Linked DNA regions of Homo sapiens: all the other regions are linked to region 2. Evidence: promoter capture Hi-C in human tissues and cell types (Jung and others, 2019). All regions are on one chromosome and are shown on one strand. The core of a region is centred on a gene start or on the middle of the fragment in contact, and the rest is flanking DNA. Distances in the headings are between cores, read along the strand shown.

Region 1 (2,931 bases), core at 97-2,596, 140 kb before region 2:
CTTTATTAAATTTAAAACTAAACAGTAAAAAAGAAATTGTTCTGGATGTGGTTTTACTTCTGAGATTACATTTGTTTTGTTTTAATTGAAATTTTCCAGTGTGGGCCAGATAGTTTACAGGCTGAATAGCTTGCAGGCTGGTGAGCTCACTTGAATTTCTCAAGAACATTTGTTAAAAAAAAAAAAAAAAGAAAGAAAGAAAGAAAAATTCTCTCTGGCTGACCACTGTGGATAAGATGTTCCTTTTACCTCTTCCAGGCTTAGTCTGTATTGATGATTTTCTTCAATGGCCTCACTACAAAGTCCAGCAAGATCTTACACACAAGAAAAAATGCTCAATTTCACTCACAGTAAGAGAAATACAAATTAAAATTACTCTGATTATTTTTCTTTCACTTACTTTGGAAAGGCTTGAAACATTGGATAATAATATCCTGAGTTGGCAAGGGTTTGCAGAAATAGGCACTCTCATACACTGCTTGCTGGAGTGAAAATTGGTAAGACTTCTATTAAGAAGTATTTAACAAGAACAAAATTATAAAAGCTCATTCCCTGACTCACCAGATTCTGCCTCTAGGAAGGCAGCCTGCTGATATACTTTGCACAATGGTAAGTCATACATGTATAAGGTAATCTACTATCAGCATGGTAATGGCAAAGGACTGGAAATAACCTAATCACTCATCAACAGGAGATAATCAAATCAATTATGGCACACTTATACAATGGAGTAACACACTTGTGAAAAAGAACAAGGGAGGTGCTTTTTATGCTGCTATGGATTAACCTTCAAGCTATCTTGATATATGTTAAGTTTTTTAAAAAGCAAAGCACAGAATAAAAATTATACGCTAGAAATACCTCGAGAAAAATATGTGAGAAACTAATAATAGTGTTTGCCCCTGGCGAGGGGAAGAGGGAGATGTGTTTGAGGGAAGCTTTTCCCTGTAGCCCCTTTTAAATTCTGAACAATGTTAATGTGCTATGTATTCAAAACAAAAAGTTAAAAATTGAATAAATACATAAGTGGAAAAAATGTTAGCATATTTCCCAAAATACATGGGTTGTTACAAATAACAAGTGAGAAAGTGAGAAGCTAATGGCGTCAGAGTAGAGGTCCTTACAGAGTATGTAACTGGGTCAAATACCAAGTAGTGCTCCTTTACATTTCAAACTTCTAATAGCTACAGATGAGCTTTTGGTGTAACTTCTGTAGGGGTGCATGTGAGCACTTCACTTAAAACTATATATTATATATTGCATTTGCCTCTGGCCATAAAGCCATAGTTCAAAAATAACTTAGAGATATCCAATATACAAAACAAAAAATAAATAAATAAAAGAACAAGCAAAACAAAAAAAATACCCAAAATGGAGGAGTGGGACAATATATGCAGTCCAACTTCTTTCCTAATTAAAAAATCCTGCAGCAATCTGTTATCCAGTCTCCAACTGAGTATCTCCCAAATGTGGGAGCTAATTATCATTTATGACAATTTATTACAAAGCCCCTTTCTTAGTTGGACCTGGTTCCCAGCTTTTAGATTTGTCTTTTGGACATAAATCAACTCTTTTTACTACATGACGCATCAACTCTCTTTTCTATATATCAGCTTTTCACACAGTTGAAGATCATTTCCTCTTTTAGTATTTACTTCTGCAGCTAAGTGTCCTGAATTCATTGCACATTCTCTCTATACATTCTAATTTGTCTGCATTTCTCACAAAATGTGGCAATTAGAACTGAACAAAGCATTCAAGATGTAGCCCAACCAGAAGAGAATTAAATGGAAGCTGTGTTTTCATCATCCTATTACCATGACTAATACAACCAAAAACTGAGCTAGATACAAGTTCTATTCTCCCCCTCACAGAGGAGGACTTTGAGGTGAAGTGACCCAGTGGGACAAGGAAACACTGCTAGAATTAAGGAGGATTAGGATTCTTTCATCACAAGGCCATTTGGATACACGTTTTCAGACACTCATTTATAATTCCAACAGAGGACTTCTGAGCTATCTTCCCCTTTGCCTCTTTGAAATCTACCTTCTTAAGAAAGGAATGTTAGACTTTCTCTGAACATCCTATCTAAATGTCTTTGGGGGCTCCCCCAAATCCAAGCTGAATTATTCTCTATCACAGCATCCTAATTGTTTCTTTCATAACATTTATCAAAATTTGTCTGGATCTTCATCTGATTCTTTTCCTGCTTATTGTCTTTCACTTTGGCTAGGCTGTAAGCTCTGTAAGTAAGGTCAGGGCCTATATCCACTGTTTCCGTAGCATATAGCACAATGTCTGGCACATAATAATCGTTTTCAGTGAGTGAATGGGTGAATAAACGGTAGCTGATAATGGAGTTAAGACTCTAACATCAGACAGAGCCCTAACACTGTGGACTGTGTATTCCTGGGCAAATGACTTAAGTCCTCACAATCCATTTCCTCATTGGTAAAATGAGGAGCTATTAATACCTACCTCATAGACCTGACATGACATTCGGTGAATTGATAGGAAGTACACAAAATGATTTAGCATGCTGTCTGATATACAGGAAACACTCAATAAATCATAGTTACTGCAGCTACTGCTACTGTTCTAATTACCACCACATCCCACTCAGAGGCTGGCCACTGAAGGATGACAATTAACTGTAACAGCTAGAGGTACATCAGCTGTTTTACCCAGCCTACCTTTCTTTCTTTTTAAAAAATTGTGATAAAAAACACATAACATAAAATTCATTGTCTTAACCATTTGTTTTTTTCTTTTGAGATGGAGTCTCACTCTTGTCGCTCAGGTTGGAGTACAGTGGCGTGATCTTGACTCACTGCAATCTCCGCCTCCCAGGTTCAAGCGATTCTCCTACCTCAGCCTCCTGAGTAGCTGGGATTATAGGCACCTACCACCACGCAGGGCTAATTTTTGTAC
Region 2 (3,238 bases), core at 601-3,100:
TCAGCTGAAGGCAGGACTGGCGCTTGTGCCAGGGGATTCCAAGTGTGTAGGTGAGGAGTGCACTTACGTGACTGTCCCGGGGCACTTGGGCCCCCATCTACACTGCCGGTATTCAGCCTTTACGTAGCTCTCCGCTCCCTCCTGTAGGATGCAGGTCACATTCCTGTGCACCACATAGGCACAGAGGGCCCTACAGGAGAAAATGGCACCCCTGGAATATCTGGCTGAGCGAGGCCCACAGAGGCGCCTACCCTCCCACCTCCATCTGTGGGCCTCAGCAGGACTCCAAACTCCCATGTCTCTTCTGTCTGTTCTCTGTGTCCCTGGGAGCCAACGCCCTTGGTCTGGGGTCCAGCCCCGCTGCTGGTCTCTGATTCCAGCCTCCGTGATGGGTGGCCCCTGGGCTAAGCACTATTTGGAACCAGGAGCCTGATGTGGCTGCCCCTCCCTGCGTGGGGAAGAGGCCAGCCCGGATTCTCCCTCAAGTGCCCTGCCACACCCCCCCATCCTTCGCTGATTCCAAACTCCTTATCTTGGCATTTAAGGCTTCCGAGTCCCCACTCAGTGACTCCTTTGAGAGCACCATGTCTTGTCCTTCCTCCCTGCCTGGCTCCCGGGGAAATCCACCTCTCCTCGTAGTTTTGCAGCCCCTGCCTTTGGTCCTGTTCCCTTACTCTCAGAGCAGTTCTTGTACCACCTCCTCCAGGAGGCTCGCTGTGATGTACCCAGGCCCACTGAGTGTCGGTACTCTTCCTCCTACAACAGCTCTCAAATTCAGCTAGAATTCAAGTTCAGCCAGCACCCCAGGCAGAGCCTCCAGCCCACTTAACTGAGGCCAGTTCGCAAGCCACTGCCCACGAAACACCAGAAGCTGAGGCGGGGAAAGCAGGCTCCTTGATGAGCCACAAGGGCTGAGGAGGTGGCTGCCTGGCATAAGCCGACCGCTGTGGACGGCTGTGCCACAGCACAGGCCCGGAGCCAGGAGCCCGCTCTGGCTCTGCAGCCCGGCCACGCTGGGGCTCCCATGGGGTTGCTGGGGCCAGGCTGACTGCGAGAGGGCAGCGGCCGCCCGGATGCGCAGCTCTATCTCCTACCTGGCCGGGCCAGGGGAGAGAAGGGAGGCCCGGGGCGGGGGAGCCCCGCGTGCTCAGCGCGCGGACCGCCTTTCCTCCTCTCCCTCCACCTGGTCCGCTCGCCCGGAGTCTGCACACAGCGCAGCTGGAAAATGTTACTTCGCTGGAAAGGTTTCCGCTGGCACTGCCAGGATCCCAAGCCGCCGCGCCAGGCCCCCTCGGTTCCTTTTTCCTCGCCAGCCCCGCAACCTCCCGGAGCGTAGGGCGCTCGCCTGGGCAGGGGCTCGGCCCCGGGCGCCGCCCCCTCTGTGCAGCGGCCTCGGGGTGCCCGGGGCCTCGACGCCCCCCGCGGGTGCGGGCAGGTGGGAGCGGCGACGCGCGCGGGCCCATCCCTCCCTCTTCCCGCCCGCCGCCCGCCCGCGCTTACTTGTGCGGCCCCGGGCGCAGCCGCGGGCGCCATCCCGTCGTGTAGAGACTGTAGCGGGAGGCACCGGGCGGCGCAGGCCGCGCCAGGAGCGGGGTGCCCCTGGCCTGCGCCCCCGAGAGCAGCGCCGCGACGGCGCACAGCCAGACGAGCAGGCGGCGGCGGCCCATAGCGGCCCCCGCGCCTCTGCCCGGCCCCGCGCGGTGCCCCCCGCCGGGTGTCCGCCTGCAGCGCCGCGCCGCCCCCGCCGCTGGTCGGCCCGGGTCCCGCCCCGAGGGTCCCGGGGTCCCCTTCGGCCCCCGAGCTCGCTGGCCCGGCCGCCTGGCGCTTCGCGGCGGCTGCGTCCCGCGGAGTGGCCGGCGCTGCTAGCGGCTGGGGCCGCGGAGGGGAGGCGGGAGGCGGGCTCTTTGCGGATTAGCATAAACTTGGGGCCGCGCCGCTCGCCGCCGCCAGCCCCTCGCCCCAGCTCCGAGCGGACGGCCGAGGAGCCGCCTGCGAACAGGAGGTTCCAAAGGGAGCAGCCCCAGGTGGCAGGGGCGCAGGCCGCCGCGCCCTGGGAGGCCCCCCGAGCACACCAGCCACTCTGTCGCCTGCGGGCACGGGGCGAGACGCAGAGAAGCGGACCCCTGAGGCCAGCCTGGGCGTGGACTTTCCAGGAGTCGTCCACCCTCAGGATACGCTTGTCTTCAGAGTCCGTGTGAACCCGGGAACTGCTCTCCAGGGCTCTGGAGCCGAGATGGCCGTGACTGGGGGCACAGCAGCACCACCTCCCCCGCCACCTCTTTGGAATAGACCCCAGATCATCCCCGTTTGCTCGCTCTGCCTCCTGGCCCCATCATTGCCCGGGAACCTTAGTTTGATAACTCCGCTGACCTCTCCCCAGGCATCCCACCTCCCCCTTACCCCGCAACCTCTGCCACGTAGCCTGGTGGCCCGGTTGCACCTCTGGTTCTCTGGAGGCGCCTGTGTTGCCTCTCTGTCTTAGGTATGGGTTGCACCGAGCCCGAAAGGCCTATCACCGCCCCAGCCCAGCCAAAAGTGCTGTGCTTTTCGTGCAACTGAAGCTCTAAGCCGGCTGGTCAGAGAAAATCCTCAGGTCTTTCTCACAAGGCACTGCCGCGGTGAAGCCAGGCGTCGTCCACATTTTGCTTGTGAAGTTGACTCTTGGAACCCAAGAGTTGGGTTTTATCGTCGTCCTCATTCAGTATCACCTTGCTAACTCTCTAACCTGCACAGAGTCCTTCTGATTCTGTCATCAGAGCGGTACTTTCCTGGCCTTGTCTCATCCACACCGGTGGCTACAGCCGTCTGTGTCTTTGCCCCAGGAGCTGATAGGTGTACAGAACTCTGGGGCTTGCTTGGAGAGACCTCCCTCCAAATTGACCTTGAGATATGAATTAATGCCTTTTGGATAGGGTGATGGTTATCAAGGATACTGGAAGGGGCAGCTCCGAAACCCACATCTATTTCCTGCCCTTAGCTTTAGTGGCTTTTGGGTTCTGTGGGGCGGACATCTGACCCCAGCTAGGCCCATCCTGCTTTCCCCCAGGCTTTGGAATCAGAACACAGAAGCTGAAGGAATCCAGCTTCCAGGTGTAGGTTGTGTGAGTTTCTCAGGGCTGTGGTAACAGCCACAGACTCAGTGGCTTAACACACAGAAATGTATTCTTGCACATTTCTGGAGGCTAACTCCAAAATCCATGGGCCAGCAGGGCAATGCCCCCTCCAGTGGCTCTGGGGA
Region 3 (2,993 bases), core at 43-2,542, 170 kb before region 2:
GGAAAAGATTCCTGGTGCTGCTACTGCCATCTTCCATAACATCATTCTCCATGTCAGCTTTCGTAATCAACTTGTTCAAACATCCTCATCTCTCTTGAGCATGACACCCTGGCCTACTGGTATATTACAAGAAGCACAGAGCTGGGTATAATATAAGGACCAACTTACAAACTTGGACAAAGACTTGTAGGAGAGACTACCTGCTCTGCATTATAAAAAAGTTAAACTAGCCATAAAAACCTGTTGTTCTGACTCCAGGGTGTGCCATCAGCTACTTTATAAAGCAGGCTGTGAGCTGTGGGCCCCAAAGGAGGGGAGTGTTTTGTTGTTGCCGTATTGAAAACATGGCTGGAGTTGGAGGAGGCTGTAAGGGAGCCAGTGGCCCTTGTACTCCTACCCTAAGTGCTGACCAGGGCTTTGGGCTCCACCAGGTGTTTGCTCTCACTGTGGGCTTTGTGGAACTGGATTTTGCCTTAGTATGTTAATATGAGAAGAACAGGCTTTCTGCAAATGCTAAACAGATGGATGACATGGTACTCCCCGCCCCCAACCCACCAAATTATGGGCCAAAAAGGAAGTCTCTTTTTCCTTAATTCAGTAAAGAAACAATAGCATAACTATGTTTCAAACTGTTGTGTTCAAATGAATTTAAAATATTCAGAGAAAGAAAAAGAATTTTGTCCTTTTTAAGACATCCTAAGTAGAAAGCAACTGGGGTGGAGGAGCTGGGATTTGCCAGGCCAAAATAAACAAACAACAATGGTTGGCTATTGTATGGAAACAATGCAACACCATCCAGGAAATTCTGTGGGATTTCTGAGGGATAGGCCACTATGGTTGGCCCTGGGGATGAGGTACCAAACACAAGGCCCCACACTGAGGCAGCTCATGCCAAAGTCACCACGGAACCATCACATTGCCCAACACCACAAATAGTGTCTCCTGTACCCCCTCCCACATTGCCAACTCAGCTAGCAATGCTGCCATTTTGGAACCCCCAATCCCTTCAGCTTCTACAATACTCCGCCCTCCTGGCTCTCACCTGAGCTTCTGGCTGCCCTCTGATGGGGTCTCTAATGAGAACACAAATGTCAAAGGGTAAGGAGGGAAGGGAGAGGCTGGGAACTCAGTGACCAGGAACCTAGAAAATCAACACGTAATAACATGACTTGTCTGTGGCTTCAAAACTATGTCTTAAATAAAAATAATCTTCTATGATACATTTTGCTTTCGAGTACAATCCAGAGAAACTGAGGAACAAAATTCAAGCTTTTGATTCCATGTATGTCAAAGAAGGAAGGTGATTTTCCATTATACTAAACATTTCTTCTACATCAGGCATAACCAGAGAAACACAAGACTTTCATCATCAGAAAAAAGCACATTATGTATCTAAGGACAATTAAAGGCTCTCTTTCCTTTTCATCAATTTGAGCTGAATTTCAACTCATGTCCTGTTGCTGTCTCCTACCCAGTGGCTGTGGATCTGCCCGACTCAGAGGATGTTTTGACCTGTTCTCCTATTGCTAAGAAATGGCTAGAAAAGCTTGGACCCCTTTAGGGTCACCATGTTCCTTCCCCTGCGCAGGTTTTTAAAAACACATGAAACAAAAAACAGCTCTCAACCGTTTATCATATTATATTCCTATGGCTTCTGCTGCTAGTTGTCCTCTGAAGCAGCCAGGCGGTTAATGCTGCTGCCAGGCAGCCTTAGAGACAGCAGATGCCCCTGTGCAGTAAATTCAGTGCCCAACCATAAGTGCCTCCTCCCCTTACCCACACAGGATAGCCATGGCCCCTGTGGACTCCTTACCGAGCTGACGTCCAGCCTGGGGACTCGATGTGTCAAAGGGCTCTGAGCTGGCCTCAGGGACACGGGGCTCCCACGACTCACTGTTCTCAGACACCTCTGAATAGGTGTCACCCATCCCTTTGTGAACTGCTGTGAGCTCACCAGTACCAGGGCCCTGGTCCTCACTGCCTGTGTCTGCCACGGCTCTGGTCTCCTCCCCCATTTTCTCAGCAAACCACTGCTTGACCTGCTGGGAGCTCATCTGGGTCTTGTCACAGAGGTTCTGCAGGTCCTCTTCATACAGCATCTTGTGTGTCATGTAATAGTCCTGCAGGAGCTCCCGGTTGCCAGGGGCAATGACCAGTAGCCCTGGTGGGAAGTTGCCTCGCTTATAGTCTTCGTACCATTTGAGTTGGCCGTTCTTCAGTGCGTACCTGCTATCTCCAAACCAGCGCACCACCTCTGGCCGTGGCAGACCCGTCTGGGCCATGATGGAGTCATAGTCCTGGTTGCTTGGCCACTGTGTCTGGACAAAGAGCTGCCGCAGCAAGTGCCGCTGCTGGGCAGTCTTTTTGCAGCTCACTTTGCCTGGGAGCTGCTCTGCCAGTTTGTTTGACTCATCATCCTCAGGGTCACAGGCACCCAGCCCTGGAATCTCGTTCCTGCCATTGGCTTCAGTGACCCTCAGGTTCTTCAGGTTGATTTTAATGGGGCTGACTTTGCGCTCTGCCAAGATATGGCTGCTGGGCATTTCCAGAGAGCCATTTTCACCAGAGACCCTTAGCTCACTGGCCAAATCCTCTTCTCCACCCTCATCCTCAGCAGCCTCCTCTTCCTCCTGAGAGGCATTCTCCTCAGCCTTCTTGGTCTCCTCAGCATTCACTTTTTTCCGTCTCTCTGAAAACCAGCTATCAATTTCTCGTCGGGTCATTTTGGTTTCACTTCTCAGGCGGTCCAGTTCCTCATCAAGAGGAAGAGGGTTTTGTGCAAAACTGCTCTCCAGGGCTCTGAGCTGCTCAGGGGCTCTCTCCTTGTATTTGGTTGGTGTGAAGTCAGGAGTCTGGTGCCAAGATTGTCGTTTGGCAGAAGGGTGGGTTGCTAGTGTGGCTGTTGTCGGAATGCAGGTTACCTCAGGGACCTTGGACGATGGGGAGAAGGACACCTCTGGCACAGAGTCAATGATGATGGAACTGTGATCTCC

Evidence for each region. Contacts are between HindIII fragments. The study calls those that stand out against the background at their distance.
Region 1: a contact is called between a fragment that was not itself captured here and the fragment with the promoter of EMILIN3 in region 2, in 1 of the 25 tissues and cell types used here (H1 embryonic stem cells).
Region 3: a fragment that was not itself captured here is called in contact with the fragment with the promoter of EMILIN3 in region 2 in 2 of the 25 tissues and cell types used here (neural progenitor cells and spleen).

The regions. Positions count from the first base shown.
Region 1 is chr20:41,222,733-41,225,663 of GRCh38, forward strand. The region is part of intron 2 of ZHX3 (zinc fingers and homeoboxes 3); the gene reads right to left. Among named protein-coding and RNA genes, the nearest start is that of MIR6871, 55 kb to the left of the region's middle. The HindIII fragment of the contact is 5,357 bases long and covers 1-2,931 here.
Region 2 is chr20:41,364,968-41,368,205 of GRCh38, forward strand. It overlaps EMILIN3 (elastin microfibril interfacer 3), which reads right to left and starts at 1,851. Exons shown (of 4, transcript NM_052846.2): 1 at 1,501-1,851; 2 at 68-190. The coding sequence starts at 1,667. RefSeq lists an enhancer at 588-1,089. The HindIII fragment of the contact is 32,668 bases long and covers 1-3,238 here.
Region 3 is chr20:41,200,244-41,203,236 of GRCh38, forward strand. It overlaps ZHX3 (zinc fingers and homeoboxes 3), which reads right to left. Exons shown (of 4, transcript NM_001384317.1): 3 at 1,814-2,993. Among named protein-coding and RNA genes, the nearest start is that of MIR6871, 33 kb to the left of the region's middle. The HindIII fragment of the contact is 4,664 bases long and covers 1-2,993 here.